Linked DNA regions of Homo sapiens: all the other regions are linked to region 3. Evidence: promoter capture Hi-C in human tissues and cell types (Jung and others, 2019). All regions are on one chromosome and are shown on one strand. Each heading gives the region's core, a stretch centred on a gene start or on the middle of the fragment in contact. The rest is flanking DNA. Distances are from core to core; before and after follow the strand shown. Region 1 has its middle 130 kb from the start of KCNG1. Region 2 has its middle 210 kb from the start of MIR3194. Region 3 holds the start of KCNG1 (potassium voltage-gated channel modifier subfamily G member 1). Region 4 has its middle 160 kb from the start of KCNG1.

What was found. The method cuts DNA at HindIII sites, captures the fragments that hold promoters and counts their contacts. A contact is called where the count stands out against the background at its distance.
Region 1: a fragment that was not itself captured here is called in contact with the fragment with the promoter of KCNG1 in region 3 in 2 of the 25 tissues and cell types used here (H1 embryonic stem cells and spleen).
Region 2: a contact is called between a fragment that was not itself captured here and the fragment with the promoter of KCNG1 in region 3, in 3 of the 25 tissues and cell types used here (H1 embryonic stem cells, dorsolateral prefrontal cortex and mesendoderm cells).
Region 4: a contact is called between a fragment that was not itself captured here and the fragment with the promoter of KCNG1 in region 3, in 3 of the 25 tissues and cell types used here (IMR-90 fibroblasts, dorsolateral prefrontal cortex and mesendoderm cells).

What each region holds. Positions count from the first base shown.
Region 1 is chr20:51,153,080-51,158,576 of GRCh38, reverse strand. No RefSeq gene overlaps it. Among named protein-coding and RNA genes, the nearest start is that of KCNG1, 130 kb to the right of the region's middle. The HindIII fragment of the contact is 3,101 bases long and covers 481-3,581 here.
Region 2 is chr20:51,236,419-51,242,030 of GRCh38, reverse strand. No RefSeq gene overlaps it. Among named protein-coding and RNA genes, the nearest start is that of MIR3194, 210 kb to the left of the region's middle. RefSeq lists an enhancer at 4,398-4,984. The HindIII fragment of the contact is 3,322 bases long and covers 2,384-5,612 here.
Region 3 is chr20:51,018,885-51,024,391 of GRCh38, reverse strand. It overlaps KCNG1 (potassium voltage-gated channel modifier subfamily G member 1), which reads left to right and starts at 1,285. Exons shown (of 3, transcript NM_002237.4): 1 at 1,285-1,522. RefSeq lists a silencer at 1,187-1,356 and an enhancer at 3,081-3,644. The HindIII fragment of the contact is 10,697 bases long and covers 1-5,507 here.
Region 4 is chr20:51,177,367-51,183,239 of GRCh38, reverse strand. No RefSeq gene overlaps it. Among named protein-coding and RNA genes, the nearest start is that of KCNG1, 160 kb to the right of the region's middle. The HindIII fragment of the contact is 9,439 bases long and covers 1-5,873 here.

The DNA of each region.
Region 1 (5,497 bases), core at 782-3,281, 130 kb before region 3:
TTATTTAAAGGGGCTTACTGCCTCTCATAAGTGAAAACTCTAGGGACACATCTAACTGGATCCAGTAGGCTAAGAGATCCCCTCTGGATGTTGCATCTCCAAGCTCTGCTGCCTTCCACACAGGCTGACCCACCCCGGAACTGCTAACCTTGGTCAGAGGACGCGGTGCTCAGCCCCTCCTCAGCCACCTGAACCGGAGTGGGTACGTCCTCCAAAAGAGCACTGGTGCTGTTATCAGAAGAGGCGGGAAAGAGGGATTTACAACATCAGATGCCCACCACAGTAAGGAATGTACCTTAGCATCCCTTCATTTCCCCCATAGGTCCCTGTAAACCCTAAAAACAAAACATACCTGACTCCCACATATGTACGAATGAATGAATGTGTGTTGAATAAGCACTCACTGAGCTGCTGATTATTAGCACTGGTGCTGTACACTTATGCTGCCATCCCCAAGGACTGCCCTGTGTCTCTTCATCTTTCCCCACTCCCACCCCACGCTCTCTGCAAGATACTGGAGCAGCCCACGGGTAGGAAAGGCAGCAAGTTACACATTTGGATTGCTCTAGTGAGTCAAGAAATGCCCCTGTCGAATGCTGGCCAAAAGCTGCTCTCCCAAGCACTCTCTGCTGTGTGGGAAGGCCAACTTTAGCTGCACAAAGGGCTATTGCACCATTGGTAAGGCCACAGGTTGAATCTGAAAGACCTAGGTTCGAGTTCCAGCTCTGAACCTCATTAGCTGAGGGTCCTTCTGCACATTCCCTCCCTCTCTGAGCCTCAGTGTCCTTATTCAATAAAGTGAGCATAATACCAGACCCTACCTGGGAGGAATCGCGTGAGGGTCACATGGCTGTATGGCAAGCCCGTGGCTCAGTGCTTGAAACATATCACAGATGATCATTATTAGCTATCCTCAGTTTCACAAGGATGCTCTTAACCCATCGGCACCCAACATGCTTATTAGATGAGCGCTCACTTTGCAAGGAGCAGACCACTCCTGCCCTGGGGTGACTGGGCCACAGACACACCTTAATAATAAGGGAGACAGGGAGGGGTACCAAGTAGAAGATAAAGCAAATCCATGGGGCTATCACAGTTGATAAAGGACTTCTGCAAACATTAGCTCATTTAATCCTCACAATCATCCTATGAGAGAGAGCCTGCTATTGTTTCCTTTATGCAGATGAGAAAAACAGGTTCAGAAATACTAAGTCATTTGCCTAATTCACCCAGCCAGCAAGTGACTCCAGGACCATTGCTCTTTGTGGAGCTGGAGGTGTGAGCTGAGGCAGGGACAGAGGTCATCTGCCATTCTTTCCCCCTGTCATTGCTGAGAGGAACCCATTTCTGAGTTTGTGCAACTGTGAGTAACTCAACCCACCCTCTCTGTCAGAGAGGTGGCATATGTCCCGTGTCCACCCAATTACCAGTCAGAGTGCCCCATCTCCCAGCCACAGAGACTGGGGCATGGACAGGTACATGGCCCAGACAGGACCAATCCAAACCTCCCAGGAACCTCATGGAACTGAACCCCCAAACTTCCCACTCAGTAAGCCCCACTTCTCCCCTGGAGAGGAACCTCCATGATTCCCTGGAAGAGAATTAAGGCATCTGTGAAACAGGACACAGATACACATGTAGCCAGATGCTGAGCTGCCTTTTACAGCCTCCTCTTCACTGTTTTAAGAGCACCACTCTGCCACTTCCTGCTGTGATCTGGGACGAGTGCCTAAGCCACTCTGTGCACCCCCTTCTTCTCTGCAGAGTGAGGCTAGCACTAGTGCCTTCCCCGTAGGCTGCTGTGAGGGGTAAATGAGACGATGCCTGCAGAGGGTTCAGCACAGAGCAGGGTGTGCAGGAAGCATCAATAGCTGTCAGCTGCTGCGATCTTTTTATCTTACCCAGGCCTGCCTGCATCTTGTCACTTGTCACCCAAGTTATAATCAGCACCTAAAAGCTTCTGCTCTCTCAGCATGTATCTGTCGCTTTACTGTTGGACCAGCTGGGGGAAGGGCTGCAATCATTGAGTCCCCAAAGGCTCGCTTCCCTAGCTCCTCTCCATTCCAAAGGGGATGGATAAAAACTTAAAATGATCCCAGCTGCCATCCTTTGAGGAGTGCCTTCTTGGCTTCCTTTCTCCAAAGCATTCTCAGCAAATGGCACCTCTCAGAGGGCCCCGAGCTGAGGCACCAACCACGGCGTTCAGTGATCATTCACAAAAGTCCTCCCGGAACTGGGACCGTTCCCTGCTGAGTCTAATTCATCGGAGATGTTTTTTACATTTTCACCTTCCTCGGACTATGTGTTCTGGAGCCCTGAAAATAAAGCCTTTTTGGCATTCCATCAGTAAGGATTTCTCAATAGCCATGAACAGAAGCCAATTCTGGAAAACGTAAGAGAAAAAAAAATGTACTGAGAGAACGTGAGCCTAGCAGCACTATTCACAACAGCCAAAAGGTGGAAACAACCCAAATGGCCATCAGCTGACGAATGGTTACGTAAAATATGGTCTATCCATACAAGGGAATATTCTCCAGCCTTAGAAAGGAATGAGGCATTAACACAGGCTACAATGCAAGTGACCCTCAAACACCATTTGTTAACCAAAAGAAGCCAGGCGCAAAAATTCATGTATTGTATGACTCCATTTACATGTAATATCCAGAATAGGTACATCCAGAGACAGAAAGCAGTTTTGGTTGCCAGGGTCTGGGGAGAGACAGGAAGAGGAAGCGATTGTTTCCCGGGTAAGGGGTTTCCTTTCCGGGCGATGATAATGTTTTGGAACGGGATAGAAGGGCTGGTTGCACAGCATTGTGAATATACTAAACGCCACTGAATTGTACGCTTTACAATGGTTAGTGTAATGTGAATTTTACCATAATTTTTCACAAAAAGAAAGATCAAAGGGTTAAGATTTTTTTAAAAAAATAAAAGGAATATGGGCTGGCCCAAAAGATAAAAGGAAAGCTAAAAAGCCGGGTTTGGGAAAGGGCAGGAACCAGGGCAACCCCGTGGGTCTGGGTAGCGTGGGTGGAAAGTCGGCTAGGCGTCATCCTGCCCCAGGCAGCACCCGCCATTTTTAATCCTTGAGTCAAAGACCCACACAAACCTCAGTCCCAGGCCCAGCTCCTGACAGAAGAGGGCAGGAAGCCTGGACCAACGGTCTCTCCAAGCTGCACAAGAGAAGAGAGATGGGAAGATTCATATTTTGTTGTCAAAAGAAGGGAGACAGCGGCTGGGAAGACAAAAATATACGAATTTGTGGGGAAGGAAGCTGGAGATGTGAACTGGGGCAGGGATAGAGGTCATCCGCCCTCCTTTCCCCTGTCATTGCTCGGAGGAACCCATTTCTGAAAAAGATATCATTCGATAGCTGCCCTGTTGCCCTCGTGCAGCTGTGAGTGACTCAACGCACCCTCTCCATCGGAAGGGTGGCATATGGCCCCTGTCCATCCAATCACCAATCAGAGTGCCCCACCTCGAAGCCACAGAAACTGGGTCATGGATGGGCACATAGCCCAGGCGGGACCAATCCAATCCTCGCAGGAACTTCATGGGAAGACCCCTCTTTCTGCAGGAAGCCCCCACCTACCATCTGCAGTGCAGTGGAGCGGGAGAGTGGTGTCAGATCCATCTGAGCCAAGTGGACTAAGAGTGAGGAAGGGGAGGTTCCCCACACACACACCAAAACAAAAAAAACAAAAAAACAAAAAACAAGGTGCTGCTTCCAGAAGAAGGAATGTGAGCTAGGTTGGTCAAAACAACAGATGGTCATCACAGACATTGCCATCAGGAGGTTCACAGGACTGTGCTGACCTGCTGCCAATATCAGATCATGGGTCCCCTGGTGGTCCCAAATTACCCAGACCACTTAACCCTCAATTCCCAGCTTCTGGAAGGGGGGAGTCCAGGTCAGCAGGTGATTCAAAGATCCCCAGTTGAAGCATAGAGTATTTGAATTAGCCCCCCAGGTTGGATGCAGCACTCGGATTATTTAAATTTTATTTGCAACTCACGGCTGTCTTGCTGACACTGTAATTATTTTGTCAGGATGCTTCTTTAGTGCCAGGCTTTGCTTTCCCCCAGCAGCCTCCCTAGGGCTTGGTTCTGAACAGAAGGTTGGATGTAGATTAGCCAGAAGCAGCAGGACTGCAACGGTGCAGCAGCCGAAGCTGCTGTGTGGTGAATGCAAGATGAGGCTTGAGGGTCTCTCTCGGCTGGGCCACCTCCGTCACCTGCTCATCTCCAGCAAATCTTGTTGGAAATGACTTGCTACTGCCCAAGTATTGACAGTCAGCCCCACCACCTCTCAAGCCAAGCCAGCACCTGGTCCTGTCTATTCTTCTTCCTAAACCTTTCTCAAACTCCATCTTTTTCTCACCCATTCTTTTCTCTGCTACCATTCCTTTGCCTCCTCTGAGCATCCATCTCACCATTCTCTGTTCCTCCACCCTTGACCATCCAGAAGCCATCATTATCCCTTCAAGGATCATCTGACCTTATTATCCACTCCTTTCACCCATTATTATCCTTGGACAGCTCCCTATTGCCCTCAGAAAAAAACTCCAGCCTCCCAGCCTCCTTGGCATGGTTTAGAGGAACCTTCATGATTCAGCCACTGCCTAACTCTTCTACCTTTCTGTTACTTTCTCACAATGAACTTCTTTGGGTTCTTTAAAAGTGATGTATGTTCTTTTACCTCTATGGAGCCTTTGCATATGCTATTCCCTCTGCCTGGAGTGCTGTTCCTTCACTTCCTTTACCTGCTTAACTCTCCTTTTTTCCTATTTCTTTTTCAGCTACTGCAGATCAATACCTGCTCAACTCTTAGTCATCCTTCAGTTCCCATCAGAGAAACCACTGCCTGCAGAAACGTCAGGTGCCCTTTCCACAGGCTCCCATAGCACCCTGCTCTTTCCCAGTCAAGAGTAAATTATAATTCTTGATTTGCTGCAGAACACACACACACACATGGGGTAAGCACCTTATGGGAAGGGACCTTGACCAACTTGTTCACTGCTTCCTCAGCACAGTGCTTGGCACATCAGAGCCATCCGCTAATTGTTTGCTAAATGAAATTACTTTTCCAAATATTTATTATTTCTAGTTTGCACTTTTAAACTTTTTGTTGATGCATAATGCACATATAGAAAAGTGTGGAAGTCCTAAGTGTACAGCTTACTGAATGATCACAAAGCAAGCTTACCTGTGCAACCCCAACCCGGGTCAAAACTGGAACATCAAAGGATCCCAAAAGACTTGCTGGGCCTGCTAGCAATCATTCTTTCCTGCCCCCTCTTCCAAAGGTAATCACATTATTGACTTCTAAGACAACAATTGTTTTCCCAGTTTTAAAACTTTATATTAATAACTTCAAATTTATATGTTTACATATTAACATTATATGAACGCAATAGGACTCTTTCACGTCTGGTTTGTTCGCTTAACATTGTTTCTGAGATTTACTTATATTGTTGCAGTAGTTGTAAGTTGT
Region 2 (5,612 bases), core at 2,795-5,294, 210 kb before region 3:
CTCAGTTCAGCTCTGGCATTTCTGCCCCATTGCATGGAAAAGGCTCTACCCTTCTTCAGAAGCCTCATTCATGCCAGGTGACCCTAGTACACCATGCCTACAAGAGACCCAATAGGAATCTCTCAAATGGGAGCTGGACTAAGGGATTAAAAAACAAAAACAAAAACAAAAAAACTGTAGATTTTGGGATTTTGAAGCTGTACGTTCATTTATTCAACAGCTACTTACTGAGTACTTGTTATGCGCCAAGCAGTCTTTTGAAGACTGCTTCACTATGATGAATAAGGCTGACATGATCCCTACCTCTACAGCCCACAGTCCAGGGGTGGGAGAGAATAAATAAATAGAAAATAGACAGAATCATTCCCTTTAGTGGCAATAATTCCCATTTGTCTATCCTTAATTTACTTACTACTATAAACAGAGTAGTAATATTTCCTTATTTGTGATAGCAAGTGGGGTGGTCACTTTTATTTAGGTGATCATAGACAGCATCTCAGAAGAAAAGGTATTTGAGTAAATATTTGAAAAAAAAAAAAAAAAGAAGGATAAGCCTGCCACATGGAGAGACGAGGGAAGAGTGTTTTCGGCAGAAGGAACAACAAGGGCGAAGGCCTGGAGGTGGGAACAATCTTAGCACATTCAACAAATAGAAGAGCAGTTGGGGCTGGGTGAGGTGGCTCATGCCTGTAATCCCAACACTTTGGGAGGCCAAGGCAGGCAGATCACCTGAGGTCAGGAGTTCAAGACCAGCCTGGCCAACATGGTGAAACCCCGTCTCTACTAAAAATACAAAAAATTAGCTGGGCATGGTGGCGGGCGCCTGTAATCCCAGCTACTCAGGAGGCTGAGGCAGGAGAATCACTTGAACCTGGGAGGCGGAGGTTGCAATGAGCCAAGATCACGCCATTGCACTCCAGCCTGGGTGACAGGGTGAGATTTTGTCTCAAAAAAAAAAAAAAAAAAAGGGTAGTGTGGCAGGAGCACAGTGACCAAGAGGCAGGTGGCAGGAGGTGGTAGCCACTTGTCGGGCACAGCCTTGCAGGTCATGGTAAAGAGCTCAGATTTTATTCTAAGTGCTTCTGAGAAGATTCTGGAGGGTTTTAAACAAGGGCCATTTCATGATCAGACTTATAGTTTAAAATGCAAAACTGAGGTACACTGAGGAGAGGAGACTATGGTGAAAAAAGAATAGAAGTGGAGAGAAACTTCTGAGGCTACTGTGGCTGCCTTGGTAGAGATGGTGGCTTCAGCTATCAGAGCAGAGGAGAGATGATGAGCATGGAATGAACTTGAGAAATATTTTGGAGGTAGAACTTCAGAACATGAGAGCAAGGGAGAGAGTTTTGGGCTGAGCACCTAGAGGTGGGAGTTAGGGTCATTTTCACATGGAGCCTGAAGTTTGGGGGAGGAGGAGCTAGGAGACTTTCTGAAGAGGCCATTACTCAGACCGCAGATTGCAGACAGACACTGTCTGACAACTTTCCAAGAGGGCAATGCTACCTCCATGCACTGGGTTCTATAGGATTTCCCTGTATCCTTACAATCAATTTCGTTTTCATTTGAGAGAAGTTAATTGGGTTTCTGTTGCTCATAACCATATCTATGACAGCTGAAGAGTTTAGGAAGATTCATGCATTGGGCGTCTACTTTCAAAGGCACAAAACATTTTCTTTATATTTTTCATTTGTTCTTTTCAAAGCTTTCGGGAGAAACCGTTCTTCCCCATTTCTGATATTTCCTTCCAGATGAAGGGGACTCAGAGAGGATGAGACTCCTGCCCTCTGTCCGATGCTTTCCATCCCACCCCAGGGAGAGGAATATCTGGCTGCAAGTTTTAGAAAACCAAAGTGGGTGTGGTTGGCTCACACATTGCTTTTACCCTGCGGTGGGTCAGCCTGCCCACAGGAAGCCACGAGTCCCCTACTCCTGTGTGCAGCGTCCCTCGTCCTCACGGGGGCCACTCCAGGGCCAGCACACGACAGGGAGGCTGGGGGCCAACCCCAGACCAGGACCAACTTCACCAAGTGTTTAATTCTGTCCAACTCTAGGGTATGGTTTTAGGAAGTCACATTGACCCTCATCTGGGCTACAACTTCCAACTGAGCATTTATTTGTAAGAAGTCAGAGGTAGTAGAGTGTGGAGGTTTCGCGTGCTGTTTCCAGAGCCACAGGGTTAAAATTCAGGCTGGCCATGTACCCGCTGCGTGGCCTCAGCAAGTTCATGTAACCTCTTTGTGACTCAACTTCTCTATCCATCCAATGAGATAAAAATGGTAACTGCCTGTCAGGGTTGTTATGAGAACTAAATGTATTAACACATATAAAACACTTAGAGTAATGCCTGGCCATATATTAAATAAATACTCTGTATGCATTAGCTGGTGCAGTATTTTGGTTTCCATCTGTTACTCTTATTCTTGATTTTTAATCTGTTTAGACAAGCGCTGCCCAATAAAACATTCTGTGATGAGGAAGCGTTGTGTCTGTGCTGCCCAGCACGGCAGCTGGTAGCCTCGGGCACCTGGTAGCCTCATGGGCTCAGTGGGTACTTGAAATGTGGCTACTGAGATAGAGGAACTGCATTTTAAAATTGGTTTCCTTTTAATTTGTTAAAATGTACTTTTAAATAGCCACATGTGGCACATGACTCCTACATCGGACAAAACAGGTCTCGAACTGAGTGGAGAAGAGGGGTACGATTGGTTGATGTTTCTCAGAGATCCCCACCAGAAGGAATTATTGTTGGAAATCCTGCATAGTTACAAGACTTGTGACAAGTGAACACAGGACTGGCATTTACAGACCTGCTGCGGCTGCTGCTTCCTGTCCTGATGTTTCTGACTGTCTCACCCAGGGGTCCCTTCCTCTGCGCTGTTTGGCTGGGTGCTCAATGATGTCTATGGAAGATGGGTTTTGGAGATAAAGATACCGAGGTTTATCCAGGGGCATGCCTGCCTCTGGGCCCCACAGCCCATTAGTGATTGCAGCACAGTGATTGGGAGACTAGAAACAGATCCGCAAGCCAGCAGATGACTGACACAGGCCACCTAAGGTGGCCAAGCTTTTACAAGCTCCTCCTTAGAGAATAGCAGTTAAGTGTGTGGGTTCTGGGGTCAGACTGCCTGGGTTCAATTCCCAGCTATGCCGCATTCCTGCTGTGTGACTGTGGACAGGTGACTTGCCCTCTCTGTGCTTTAGTTGCTGAATCCGTTGCAGATTCTTTACCACTCATAACTGTCTGGCTAGAGAGAATCATTACTCTCAGCAAGGCTTCCTAACTTGCCTGAGCTCACTTGCCCAGTAAGTCAGTCATGGAATGGCAGGCCAGGTCTCACTAACGCAGGCCTCCGTAACAACTGTTTCAGTGCTGAGTGCTGAAGTGAAATATTAAAAGCTGAGAGAGCCAATGCCCTCATACAAAGGCTGGAATGTAACAAAGCCCCACCCAGAGTTTTGCCTAGGCTCTTCCTGGGCCTTAAAGCATGGCAAAATAATGAAGGAATTCTTAACAGGACCCGTTTAGGATTAAACAAGTTTTAATGGGGGTCTGAAGAAACTTCCCAGGCCTTCACAAACAAGTTGACTGGGGCTCTGAAGGAACTCCCCAAACCTCCATGTTCTAGCAGGGGACAAGATAAGGGTAATCACCCCAGCACCTGGACGCATTGAAATTAAGTAAATTTACTGAGGCTCCAGAGGAAGGTCTTCGGGACTCGGGCCTTCATTGTAGATTAAAAGAAGTTAATCACTTATGTCTTTAGACGAACGCACACTTACACGTAGACATATAGCTTAGAAGGTATATAAGCTCTGGCAAACTTTATCATTTTGAATTGTTCTGGGGATCATTTCCAGGCCTTCTCCCTTTAACCGGTTACAGAAATAAAAACTCTCTTCCTCCCCAGTTCATCTGCATCTCGTTTTTGGGTGGTGAGAAATTGCAGCCCAGCCCTCAGTTTGGTCCGGGAACGATGGGGCTGGAGTTTGGAGTCAGGATCCCCAGAGTCCGGACTTCTTGCCAGTCTCCCAGACAGCTGCTGCTTCCTGCCCTGGCGTTCCCAGCAAGTCAAAGGGAAGGTGGCCCGGCTCGGTGCTGCCTGTAAAACTCCCTTCCCCAGTACACAGGACCTAGTTTTCTCTTCTAATAAAGCTCAGCTTCGGTTTAAAAAACAAATCCATTTCCAAAGCAACCTGAGGCTCTGACACCATGCTCACAGGGAGGGCGGCTCGGACCCTGCCTACTGGGAATCACTCCTGCACCAGAGAACATTGTTAGGAGTTTGGGGACGGCTGGGTTTTGTTGATTTTTTTCCCCTCTCAGAATCCGGACCACAAAAGTTTCCAGCTTTCAAGTGCCTATTTCCCCCCATCGAGATGCTTGGACATGCCCCACCTTTGGGCAGTTTTAAAGACTCCCAGGCCATCTTCCCCTCTGCTGCCCAACTCGCCCCTGCCCGTCTGCTGCAGCCACCTTCCTCATCGTGGCTGGAGGAACGTAGAAAAGGCAGCCACAGGCCCCACAGTGTCTGCACTGAAAACCCTGGCAGGGGGTGGAGAGAGGAAGCAGGATGAAGCAATGCTTGGCCCCAAGGGCTCTCATGGTGACTTCAGGCAGCAGCAGGACTCAAACTTGGGAGCTCAAAGAGTTCTGGAACATTCTTCCACTTCTCTAGCCTAACAGACTCCTCTTTAGAGGACTGGCATAATCCTTAGACTTTTTTTTCTTTTTCCTATTGAGATAATATAACGCTCTCCACAATTCACAGAATAGTAGAAAAGAACCTTCTTCCAAAAGACTCCCCCAACTTCTGAGCAGGCAGCTCCCTCCTCTTTATTATGCATGTTCCAGAAAGCCCTTAGTAGGTGGATCTCCGAGCTCCCCCAGCTCCTCCAGAAGATCCTAACATTGCAACAGGATGGGCTCAGGTCCTCCTCCACCTCCAGGAGAAGACAATGGGAAGGGAATGAAAGGGAAGCCCCCAGACTGCCCTCCTGGCTCAGGCCCCCAACTTCTCCCCCGGACTCTTGCAGGAGCCTTCCTCTTCCCCAGTCCTCCTGTCCTCACCTTCGTACAGCCAGAGTGACCCTGCAAATTGCAGGGTCAGGTCATGTCCCTCCTCTGCTCAGAGCCCTCCAGTGACTTTCCCAGCATACTTAAATAAAGTCCAGCTCCTTACCAGGGCCTGCAAGGCCTCACTCAGCCTGGCCTTGCTGCCTCCCCCAAGGGCCCCATATAGCCCAAGAGAGATGGGTCCTGCCAGAAAGCATTGGCAGGGATCACTAGAGCTCTGTGCATTCTCTGGGCTATCAAACACATGAACAATTCTGTATGCAAACAACCTCAAACAAGAGCAAAGCATCCTGGCTTCAGACAGCAGCACAAATGCCGCACCACCAACAGGCTAAATTAGACTTAGAAGTAATGTGTTGGTTTGGGTCTGCCTGTACTAGGCTGGGAATAGGATTTTAGAAGCATGGTTAAGAGCTGAATCATGATTCAAGCACAACATAAAAGTTCAGCAGCACTGTGAAGGGAAGAATAAGAAAACAAGCAAAATGAGGTGCGGTAGGCTCTCTGTGGTAAAAATAATAATAATAATAATAAAATT
Region 3 (5,507 bases), core at 36-2,535:
ATAGGCAAAGGCAGTAGAGACAGAAAGGAAAAGAGGAACGGAGTGCAAGAGACAGAAAGGAGAAGAGGAACGGAGTGCAAGAGACAGAAAGGAGAAGAGGAACGGAGTGCAAGGCAAGCCACCCTAAGAGGCCAGCCCTGCCAGCAGCACAGATCCCTCCAAACCAATAGGTCCCTCCAACTCAGTAGATTCCTCCAACCCAATAGATCCCTCCAACCCAACCTCCAGCATCTGTGCAGCATCCTACCAACTCCGAGGCTAGGCGGCCACACTGGGAGCAAGACCCCAGGACCTGGTCCAAGTGCCCTGCACCGGCCAGGGGAGTGGACGACGAAGTGCGGCTCTGCTAGCCCGGGAGGGCTCTGGGGCCTCGGCCCCGCGGGACTGGAAGGGAAAACACCTGGCACGGTACGTACTGGCCCTAGGAATTTGGCACAGCAAGATGCTGGCAGTCCCTGGGTGGCGGTGGCAGGAAGGGCCCAAGGGCAACATTGGTCTAGGAGGTCGAGAAAAGGCGCGCGATATATGGCCCCCAGGATGTGGAAGCTTGCTTGGAGCGTTCGGCTCCAGGGCAGCAGCGCGTGGAGGGCCTCAAGGATGCAGTATTTGCCCGGGGTAGGGGGGCGAGGGACCCAGAGGCAGCAGTGCACTTGGACTTCCAGGACTTCCAGGGAAAGGCAGGAGACATGGCGCATGTGGTTCCCAGGATGTGTAAGCGCGTGGAGCGCGGCCCCGGGGCAGCGGAGAGTGGGGTTTTAATATCTAGCACATGTAGACCCTGGGGCGGTGCTGCTAGGGGCGCGGACCCGGGACCACCGGAGCACTTGCACCGCGGGGAAAGCTGACAGGGCGCGCGACCCTAGGAGGCTGCCGCGCCGCCTGGTGCGTGAAGCTCCAGGGCAGCGGAGCGCGGGGACCTTGAAGGCTGTCGCGTGCAGGCGAAGGGGCCGCAGGGTGGTCGCTCCTGGGAGAGCAGACGGGGAAGAAGGCAACGGGAGGGAGGGCGTAGCGCGAGCAGTCCCGGACGCGGGCTCAGGAACTGGCCGCGAGGAGCGCAATCCAGCAGGCGCGCCAGGGCCCCCGGATCCAAGGTGCGGGGTCCCGATTGGGCGCCTGGACGCCCCGTGACGGTGGCGCCGCTGCCACTGTCCCGAAGCGAGGCGAGGCCAGGCGCTGCGCTTTCGGCTGCCCGCCCCTTCTCCCCGCCCCGCGCTCAGTCCCCTCCCTCCGTCCCGCCTCCTGCCTCGCTCCCTCCCTCGGCGGCTGCTGCGCCGCGCTCCCGGCGCACTCGGAGCCCGGCGGGGACCGGGAGGCAGAGACGGGGCGGCCGTGGCTCCGAGGGCGGGAGCTGAGCCGGGCCCCGGGACCGAAGTTTGGCGGCGGCTCCGGGAGGCAGAGCGGGCTCCCCGGGCGACTTCCAGGCCCCTCTCGCGTCCTCGCCCCGGACCCGTGGGCAGCCGGGGGGAACGGAAGCCGCGGCCGGGCCAACTCCGAGGCGGGGACGCCGCGACGGGAACTTGAGGTGGGAACTTTGCGCGCTGCAGCCTCGCCGGGCGCCACCGAAGCGCGAACCGGACCCCGAGCCTGCAAACTCGGGCTCGGGGGCGGCTGCACGTGGCCGTGGCCCTGAACTCCCTGCGGGGGCCTCGAAACCCGCCTGCGGGGAGGCCAGGGCGACAGAGGACTCGGGAGTCACCGCTGGTGCGTGGCGGCGTGGAGCGCGCTTGTTACGGCCAAGGTGCGGGTCCGGCTTCGGTTCATCCCAAGGGGTCACCGGGATGCGAAGTCCGGGACGTTCGCCGCCGCGGTGACCCCGGCGGGGGCGCATCCCGGCTGTGGGCCGAGGTTTCTCCCCCGATCCTGGGAGGAAGGAGAGTTAGGGATTGGGGTGGGGGAGTGTGTGTCACTTGCTCATTCACTGTATCCTTAGGCACAGTATGGAGCCCCCCTTCACCCCCACCGTGGGCCTGATTGAGTCATTCATTATGAACACAGCAAGCGTTTATTGAGCGCCTACTGTGTGCTAGGCACTGGGGATACTGAGACAGTTCACTGGGCACCCCCAGGAACTGGTAGGAAGGTGGTGGTCTCAGCCTTAGGGTTTCCATGTGGGAGAGAGGCTCAGCCCGGAGGTATGGAAGGAAAAGGGTGAAGTTCATTCATTCATTCATAGATTGGACAAAGATTGGTTGAGCACCTATTGTAAGCAGCTCATCATACCAAGCGCTCAACAGTCATTCATCCAGTTCACAAACATTTATGGAGGCGCTATGCTGGGGAGAAGTGAAGAGGGATGGAATGGGGGCACCCTTCATGCAGCTTAGAGAGAAGTAAGGATTAAGACCCAGGCCCCCGCTTGGGAGGCCGCAGACTGCCGGGGTGGCCAACTGTAGCAGCCCATGTATATAGGCAGAAGTCTTGGTTCATCTAATGCATTCCTTCTCAAGGTGGGAGGTGTGGAAGCTGGAATTGGTTCTAGAATAGGAAGAAAAGATCTTTTCAAAGCTCCTTAGGGGCGGGTGATGGGGTAGGGTGGGGAGGAGTTGAGAAACACTGATCCGACATTACTGAGGAATGCAGGTTCCCACCAATGGGGTTTATGAGTTAGGTTGTCCATTCAGCAGGCATTTTCTTAAGCACTCGCTGTTATTAAGCACTTAAAGGGTGCCAGGCACCAAAGTTACCCAGGTAAATGACAGACACATAGAAGAGGGAGACAGACACAGACGCCCCCACCCCCTTTGCTGACTCCCTGAGATAAGTACAGGGGGAAGTAAGAGGAGGGAGCAGGAACTGGTCTGATTCATTGTGGGGTGGGGGAAGTTCCTGCCCTATGAATCTGAGCAGAGGTTTATTCATTAGTGTGTGTTTGATACCCCCATACCCATGATGGCAGAGTCCCTATGAAGAGCCTCACCGGCAGCACATCTCCAAGAAAAGTTTGGCACTGCTGATTGGGGCCTTGCGGTCGGCACTGTGGCTAGGGCATGCTGTCCTTCTTTGGGGGATTTTTCAGGCTCTGCCAGACCTGAGCTCTATTTGTGCCTCCCCCGGCTTTTGGAGCCCTGCAGAGTCGCCTGATAGGAGGGGAAGGAGGGAAGGTGTGTTTGAAAAACAGGCAAGCGCTGGCCCCTGGGGATCACCCTCCTCAGTCATTCTCGAAGCCAGCCCGTTCCACGGGAAAGATGTCTGTCCTGGGACACACTCCTAACCTGCAGGGAACTGCAAGCACACTGGAAACGAGGCAACCTAGGTTCTTCTCCTGAGACTTGAGAGCCCAGGCCCGCAGCCTACAGCCTGGGTTGTCAAACCTTGGGAGTAAAAAAATCAACCAAACCCCTAGTTTTGCCAAACTCTGGGTTGCCTTTTTGGCCTCTGGGAGGGAGATGTGACATGGGAGGCAGAGGTTACTTGCTTCTCCCCATCCCCAAAGACTTTCCCGAAGCTTGTCCTGGAGCCTGATTGGGGCAGATCTGAGCACCACTTTGAATTCTCTGCACCAGACCCACAGCTGGGCTCTGGCAAGAGGTGAGGGAGGTGCCTCAGGAAACAGAAGAACAAAGAGATGTGTGCTGGATGCAGGGCTAAGCGACGCAAACCAGCTCCGAGGAACTCACCTCCTGGAGCCGCAGTAGGTACCTTGGCTCGGCTGTCCTTTCTCCACCCTGCTTTCCAATGTTGATGAAGAGTCAACATTGCCTGTTGCCAGAGGTCTAGGGGTACAGGAATCTACCCTTGGTTGTTGCATTAAGCCCAGAAATGGAGCCTGTGGGTGAAAAATGGCAGCTGGTAAAGCCCCTCTAAATAGAATTAATAAAAAGGGAGAGGCGAAGAACCTAGCTGAAGCACTCCATTGCTGTGGACCATTTTTATCATCCAGCAGACTGTATTTGATTAACGAAATCAGAAATGAAGTGACTTTGCTACAAATAGGATCTGAATTGTGCCTAAGACTGTCCGTTGCCCTGAGGTGAGTCTTCACTCTCATACCCACACCTCCCCGGGCAGGTCCGATCATGCTCTCCCTCCAGAGGACTCTGGTAAGCAGGTGTCTCCCTTCCTGCCGTCCTGAGGTCCCCACTGCTCCCCCAAGCCTGCTTCTCTGCTTAATTTTGAGCTACAAGGAGGCAAAGAGAAAAGGATCTTCTGGCTCCAGTCCCCAAACACCTCCCCGTAGAAGAAGGCAAACGCAAACGTGCATTTGGTGTTATTTTGCTTGCCTGCAGCACAGCAGGGAGGCTCCCGAGGCAGCCTGTCTTTTTTATAGGGGGGAGGGACACTGGCACTTTTTCTCATTTGGGGGCAAGGGAGGGATGGAGGGAAGAGCCTAGCTCCCAGCACACAATCTCCCCAGGAACTTGGGCCCCAGCTTTCAGGAGGCTGGGCCAAGGCCCAGGGTGGTGGGACTGTGGCGAGAACAGACAGCAGGTGGCTAAGAAAGATATATTCTCCACCAGGGCACAGCAGCTCTTGGAAATCTAACATGCCAGGACCCGGGCCAGGCTAATGGTTGGATCCATTTTGATTAACGTTTTAATTGGGGATTAATGCAGCCTGACCCGCCTCTGAGTCGGCTCGGCCAGAAGCCCTAATCCTGACAGATGAAGCTATACTGGCAGTGAAACGCTGCAGGGCCTGGGAAAGAGTGGCATGGAGAGAGACGGACGGGTCCCCGAGACACCCACTGGGAGTGAGGGAATGGCACAGGTTGAGAGGCATGGTACGAGAGAGAGAAACCAAAGCCTGCAGAGTACAGGAGAGAAATGCTTTCCTTCTGGAAAGTTGCCTTGGAAGCTGTGTTAATTTCCTCCTTTCACATACTTGCACACATTTAGTGGCTTAAAGCAATATAAATTTATTATTATTATTATTATTATTTTTGAAGACAGGGTCTTGCTCTATCACCCAGCTGGAGTGCAGTGTCACTATCATGGCCCACCACAGCCTTGACCTCCTGGGCTCAAGTGATCCTCCCACCTCAGCCTCCTGAGTCACTGGGACTAGAGGTACACACCACCATGCTCAGCTGATTATTTTTTAATTGTAGAAACAGGGTCTCACTATGTTGCCCAGGCTGGCCTTGAACTCTGGAACTCAAGCAGTTCTCTCACCTTGGCCTCCCAAAGTGCTAGGATTCCAGGCGTAAGCCCCTGCGCCCAGCCTGAATTTATTATCTCATAGTTTTTGGAGATCAGAAGACCAAATGACTCACTGGGCCAAAATCAAGGTATCAGCAGGGCTTCTGGAGACGACTCCACCCTCTGCCTCCATCGTCAACATCTCCTTCCCAGAGGCCAAAATGGCAACCCTGAGTTTGGCAAAACTAGGGGTTTTGTTGATTTTTTTTAACTCTGCTCACTTGCAAATATAAATAGTGATAAATATGTTTCCCCAGCCATGGACAATTGCCTGCTTCTCCCCATCCTCAGAAACATTCCAAAATCTCGTCCATATGAAATAGAGACTAGAAACCCAGTCCCTGACTCACTGCAAGGGGTGGAGACACC
Region 4 (5,873 bases), core at 2,062-4,561, 160 kb before region 3:
GAGATGGTGTTTAGGTGAGCTGGGCTGAGACTTAATATATCAATTCAATGAAATGTGGACCAAAGATATCCTTTCTGCCAATTTCCCTAAAGCGAGCAGAAGCATTCATCAATGTTTCAGAGAATTTCCGTTTGCATTCAAAATTAGTGTCAGCTGTCTCTAAAATTATCTTGACCAATCAAGCCACATTTTGAGTAGCAAGATTCCCTATAAGGCACATAACCTTGGCCTTAATATTGTAATAACAACAACATCACCAATTAGAATGATAACAAGGTCTTCTCTGATCGCGCTTTTAAAATTGCAATCCCCCAAATGCTTCCCCGTTATCCCTGCACTGTGTTTCCCCAAAGCACTTACCACCTCTGTCACATCACCATTTTTCATTGTCTCTTGAGATGCCTGTTGCTGTGAGACACACCATTATTTTATGTACCACTAACAGTGAAAACAAAAATGCCATTTAAATGACATGAAGCCTTAACAATAGTAGCATTGTCCTGAATCCAAATGAATCAGTTCCATCAGCCTCTCAATGTTTTAAAAGTTTTTTCATCTTTCCAAGGGATTTGATCATTTCCCTTGTCTTTACTCATGCTGATGGGCTAATGGTAAGCGAGCGTTCTGCACTATTTATCTCAATAATCAAATGCAACGCAGTTGCATCTTCCTTGAGTACCTTCCTTGCTTATGTCTTACAAAGTACATAGGTGTTGGTTTACAAGAAAAAAATGGAATTATGATTGGCACTCCAATGATAAACATTGGCTTCACTAACATCAGACAAATGCCCTGCTGTCTGTTCCCCTGCCCTTCTGCATACATAGTACCATTGCTGAGTCAGATGGGTATAGCGTTAAGATATCTTAAATGGAAATTAAAATTCCCACACATAATAATTCTAACAGTGCATTCAGCCCAACAAAAGCAACAGCCATCTGAATGACCTTAATGATGATTTCACAGGAACATGCGATGACAACCATAACTTGACTACTGCCCCCACCATGAGCAGGCATGAGACAGCAGCAGTTCCATCGACTGCAAAATTATCCCAGTTTCAAAGATATTACAATGGGGGATGGGGCTGCATTTCAGAATTTATGAAATCCGCCATTTATGTTATTTGTTTTCATTCCCTGCCCCAGCTTAGAACGGAAGCTCTATGAGGCAACGGATTTTCATGTCTTCTATTCTCTGCTATATTTTCAAACCCTAGAACAGCAACCGGGACAGAGCAGTCAATATCTGCTGAATGAATGGCTCAATTTTGCCCTCGATCTGGCCCACTGTCAGAACTGTGTCTGTTCAGATTGTATTCTATGGACAGTCCTACATTCAAGCTTTGCTCCCTACCGTGCAAATCTTGTTTATAATAATTTGGCACATAGATACCTCATGCATCAGATGTCGTGTAAGATTATGCCAACATAAAACTTTTACATACAAATAAAATTTGAAGTTTATTTTACAAGGTTTGCATTTTGACCTCGAACACAATCATTGACCAACATTTGTTGAATGCGGTTGTTATATTCAGGATGCAATACTACATTCTCAGGGTGTAAATGGCACAAGCAAGTGAGAGAGTCAAAGCATGTTTGTAAAAATACATGGACTGGCACAACTCCCGTTCTGTGCTGACCCAAGCCAGCACTGGCCACACCTGTTGTCCTTGCTGTTCTCCCTAGCCTCATACCCTCAAAAGAGGACCTTGAAATCCCCCCTCCAAACAGCCACTGCCCCTGTGCCAATTGCAGGGGAAGGATGTGGAGGGTGAAGGCCAATGCTGAGCAGACCCAGCTATCATTTCTAGAACCATCCTCTGCTTTTCAAAATGTCAAGTCTGTTCTACTGGAATAGAGTCACAGCCTTTTCCATTCCCCACCCGACATTTCTCCTAAACCCAATTTGCATTTTATAATTACAAAAACAATGCAATCTTGGGAGTCTATAATTATTTCAAAATTAAAAAGTGACACATGCTCATTGAATTAAAATTATAAAAATTAAACAAGCAAATATGAAGTGAAAGTTTCCCATCCATCTCTCAGAGGCAAACCCTGTTTCATTTGTTAAATGTCCTTCCAGACTTCTTTCTATGTGTACCCAATTTGTGTAAGTTCTCCTGTTGTGAAAGTGGAACCATTCTATACGCACTATTCTGGAATAAACTCTCACCATTTATTGAAGGCATCACATCCATATTCATATCCATGTCTATAGTACAGATATATCTGTACTATATCCGTATCTATACTATAGCTATCTATATCTACAGCCATAGCTACAGCTACCTCATGTTTTTCCTTTATACATCCTTCATTGGGAAGCTCTGTAAAACTTGTATTTCTGTTGTATGCCTGTACCCCAAGTTTATTCAAGCAAGTCTTCTGTATGGATCATTTCCACAGGAGGCGATAAATCACATATACTCATATAAATTTTGCCTTTTGTATTTCTGTAAAATACATTTCTAGAAGTAATTTCTAACGTGCATTTTTCAATTGATGATACTGATCAATCACCCTCCAAAAAAACTGCACTGTGAGGTCCCTTTTTTTTTTTTTTTTTTTTTGAGATGGATTCTGGCTGTCACCCAGGCTGGAGTGTAGTGGCATGATCTTGGCTCATTGCAACCTCCGCCTCCCAGGCTCAAGCAATTCTCCTGGCTCAGCCTCCCGAGTTACTGGGATTATAGGCACATGCCACCACGCCCAGCTAATTTTTGTATTTTCAGTAGATACGGGGTTTCACCATGTTTGCCAAGCTGGTCTCAAACTCCTGATCTCAAGTGATCTGCTAAAATGCCTCCTAAAGTGCTGGGATTCCAGGCGTGAGCCACTGTGCCCAGCCTAGATCCCCATTCTTTTCATGTGCATTGAAATACCAATGGAGTACCTTCTGTGTGCCAGATTCTCTTCCTGGTGCTGGGGAAAACAGCTGCGAACAAAAGGAAGTCCCTGCCCTGGTGGAGCTTGTCGTCTAGAGAAGGGAACTGGACAGTGAACAAATACAGAAGCTACAGGTCACATGATGATAGAAGCTATGGAAAAAAAGCAGAGTAAGGGATGGGGAGTAGCTGGGAGAGTGGGGGCCATTCAGATGAAAGAGCCAGGATACCTCCTTGAGAAGTGAAGGAACTGGGGCTGGAGAGATGCAGGTATCTGGGGGAAGAACATTCCAGACAAATGGAAAGCATGCCCACCAAACAAGCCAAGGCTCTCTACCAAAACTCTCACCAACGTGGCCATAGTCGTGACTTCTCTATCTTCAGAAGTTGGAGGTAAAATAGATACATATGATTTGAAGTAAAACATTTTTTTCCTCATTTCGTGATCATTTATAATCTGTTTTTGGGAATTGCCTGTTTGGTGACCTTTGCCATTTTTCTCTAGCGGTGTCTGATTTTCCCTCACAGATTTCTAAGAGTGCTTTCTACTTGAAGGATATTAAGACTTTGTCAATTAGGGTGCAAATATTTCCCAGATCTGCGATTTTTCTTCTGACTTGATCCTCATGCCTTTTTCCATAGGGAAATTGAAGTTTTATGTAAACAAATTTGACAATCTTGGATTATTTGGGATTTTGTGGTTTTTTAAATGGCCTTTCCCAGCCCAGAATTATATGAATGCTTTCCAAAAATTTGAGTCCTTTTGTATTTTAATACAAAAGGATTAAACTCACCACAGGTAGTTCTAATGTGTGTTAATATGTTTAAGACTGGAATTTTTTGTGGGGGTTGGTAGAAGTATATGGTATGAGGTGGGAAATTTCACTTTTTTTCAGGGGATATGCCAATTATTCTAACTTTGCTTCTCAAACAATAACTGGGTGGTTTGAACTCTGAGGCTGGGTTATCTCAGCTAGAAAATAGCTCCACCCTTCACCAGCTTTGGGACCTCAAAGATGTCCCTTCACCTCTGTATCCCAGAACTCTCATCTGTAAAATGGGTTAATACCAGTATCTGCTCCTTAGGTTGTACCTACCTACAATGGACCTACAATAACGTGGGACTCCAGTGAGGCTCAAAGTGAGCACAAGGTGAGTCTTGCAACTTGCATCAGTGCAGGACACACGTCCTATTGAAGTCAGAGCTTGCTTCAGACTCAGAAAGCAATGCCATTCTAAGAAACATGAACAATCAAAGCTGTGTTAATCGCCTGTATTAGCCAACCATTTATGCTGAAAATGATCCTATAGAAGGGAAGGGAAAGACAGGGCACTCCAGGGTTCCTTTTCCTCTCAGTCCTTCCTTAATCATCAGCAAGCCGAAGATGGGGAGTTGGTAACATGTGAGCACAGCAAGAAGTGAAATAAAGGCAGTTGTTAGTTTTGGACAAGTGTTAACTCTTCTGCTAGGAATGAAATATATATCCATGTACAGACTACACAATAGGAAGTGTGTGTTTTCAATGATTCCATATATGAGTTAACTCCTTCTATATTTGCGTTCTTAACGGGCGTATAATATAAAGATGAACAGTAAAATTCATGCTAAACATTGTTTCTTTACTTGGAAGGACACTAAATAACAAAAAACTCTATGATGAGAGACAAAAAGAGAGACTATGAAAGAAAAAGAAACAATGTTTTCGTACCTTTAGTGATACCTTTTTTTGCTTTTTGATCAAGAGTCTTATATTTTCATTTCACACTGGCCCCTACTAATTATGTAGCCAGCTCCATCCTGGCACATAGCAGGCACTCCATAAATGTCTGAATAAATCAATGAATGCCCCTGCAGTAAATACTGATAAAGCCTAGGGGAATGGGGGAAGTAGCTGGCACAAGTAAGGTGAATGTGTGCATCTCTGCCAGCTCTCAGACAGCAGCACAACCATTAACCCAGCTCCATGCTCTGTTATCAGCAGAAGTCCACGTGGGGCAGGAACTTCTCTAACAAGAGCATTTTCTATTTATTTATTTATTTATTTATTTATTTATTTATTTATTTATTTATTTTGAGACAGAGTCTCACTCTGTTTCCCAGGCTGGAGTGGAGTGGCGCAATCTCAGCTTACTGTAATCTCCGCCTCCCAGCTTCAAGCAATTCTTCTGCCTCAGCCTCCTGAGTAGCTGGGACTACAGGCACGTGCCACCATACCAGGCTAATTTTTGTACTTTTAGTAGAGACGGAATTTCACCATGTTGGTCAGGCTGGTCTCGAACTCCTGACTTCAGGTGATCCACCCACCTCCCGAAGTGCTGGGATTACAGGCGTGAACCACTGTCCCTGGCTCAAAGCCTTTTCTATCCATTGCCATTCTCCTTGCAAATCCCCACAGGCCAACAGGAGCTACTTACAGAGCTCGGGGGCTTAGACGTGAAGAACACCTTCCTGGTAAGATGCTCCCCAAGATTTGTCCCCATCTCTGAACTCCCTGTGCCTCGTGGCTGTTCACTGTAGCCTTCAATTCCCAGGCCCGCCACTCTGCAGACTGCTTCCTATCTGCTCCTCTGAGTCAAGGACTGCTCTTGTGCGTTTTCTAAAAGGGCTAAAAGCCACATGATGGCCTGGGCATGGTGGCTCACACCTGTAATCCCAGCACTTTGGGAGGCCGAGGTGGATGGATGGCTTGAGTCCAGGAGTTTAAGACCAGCTTGCGCAACACGATGAAAGCTCAACTGTACAAAATTATATATATTTTGTATATATGTGTGTATGTGTGTGTATATATATACACACACACATATACACACACATATACATATGTATATACACACATATATGTACACACACATTTATACTTATATATATGCACATACATATATGTACATATATGTGTGTGTATATATATACACACATACATATACGTATATGCGCGCGCGCACACACACACACACACACACACACTCAAAAATTAGCCAG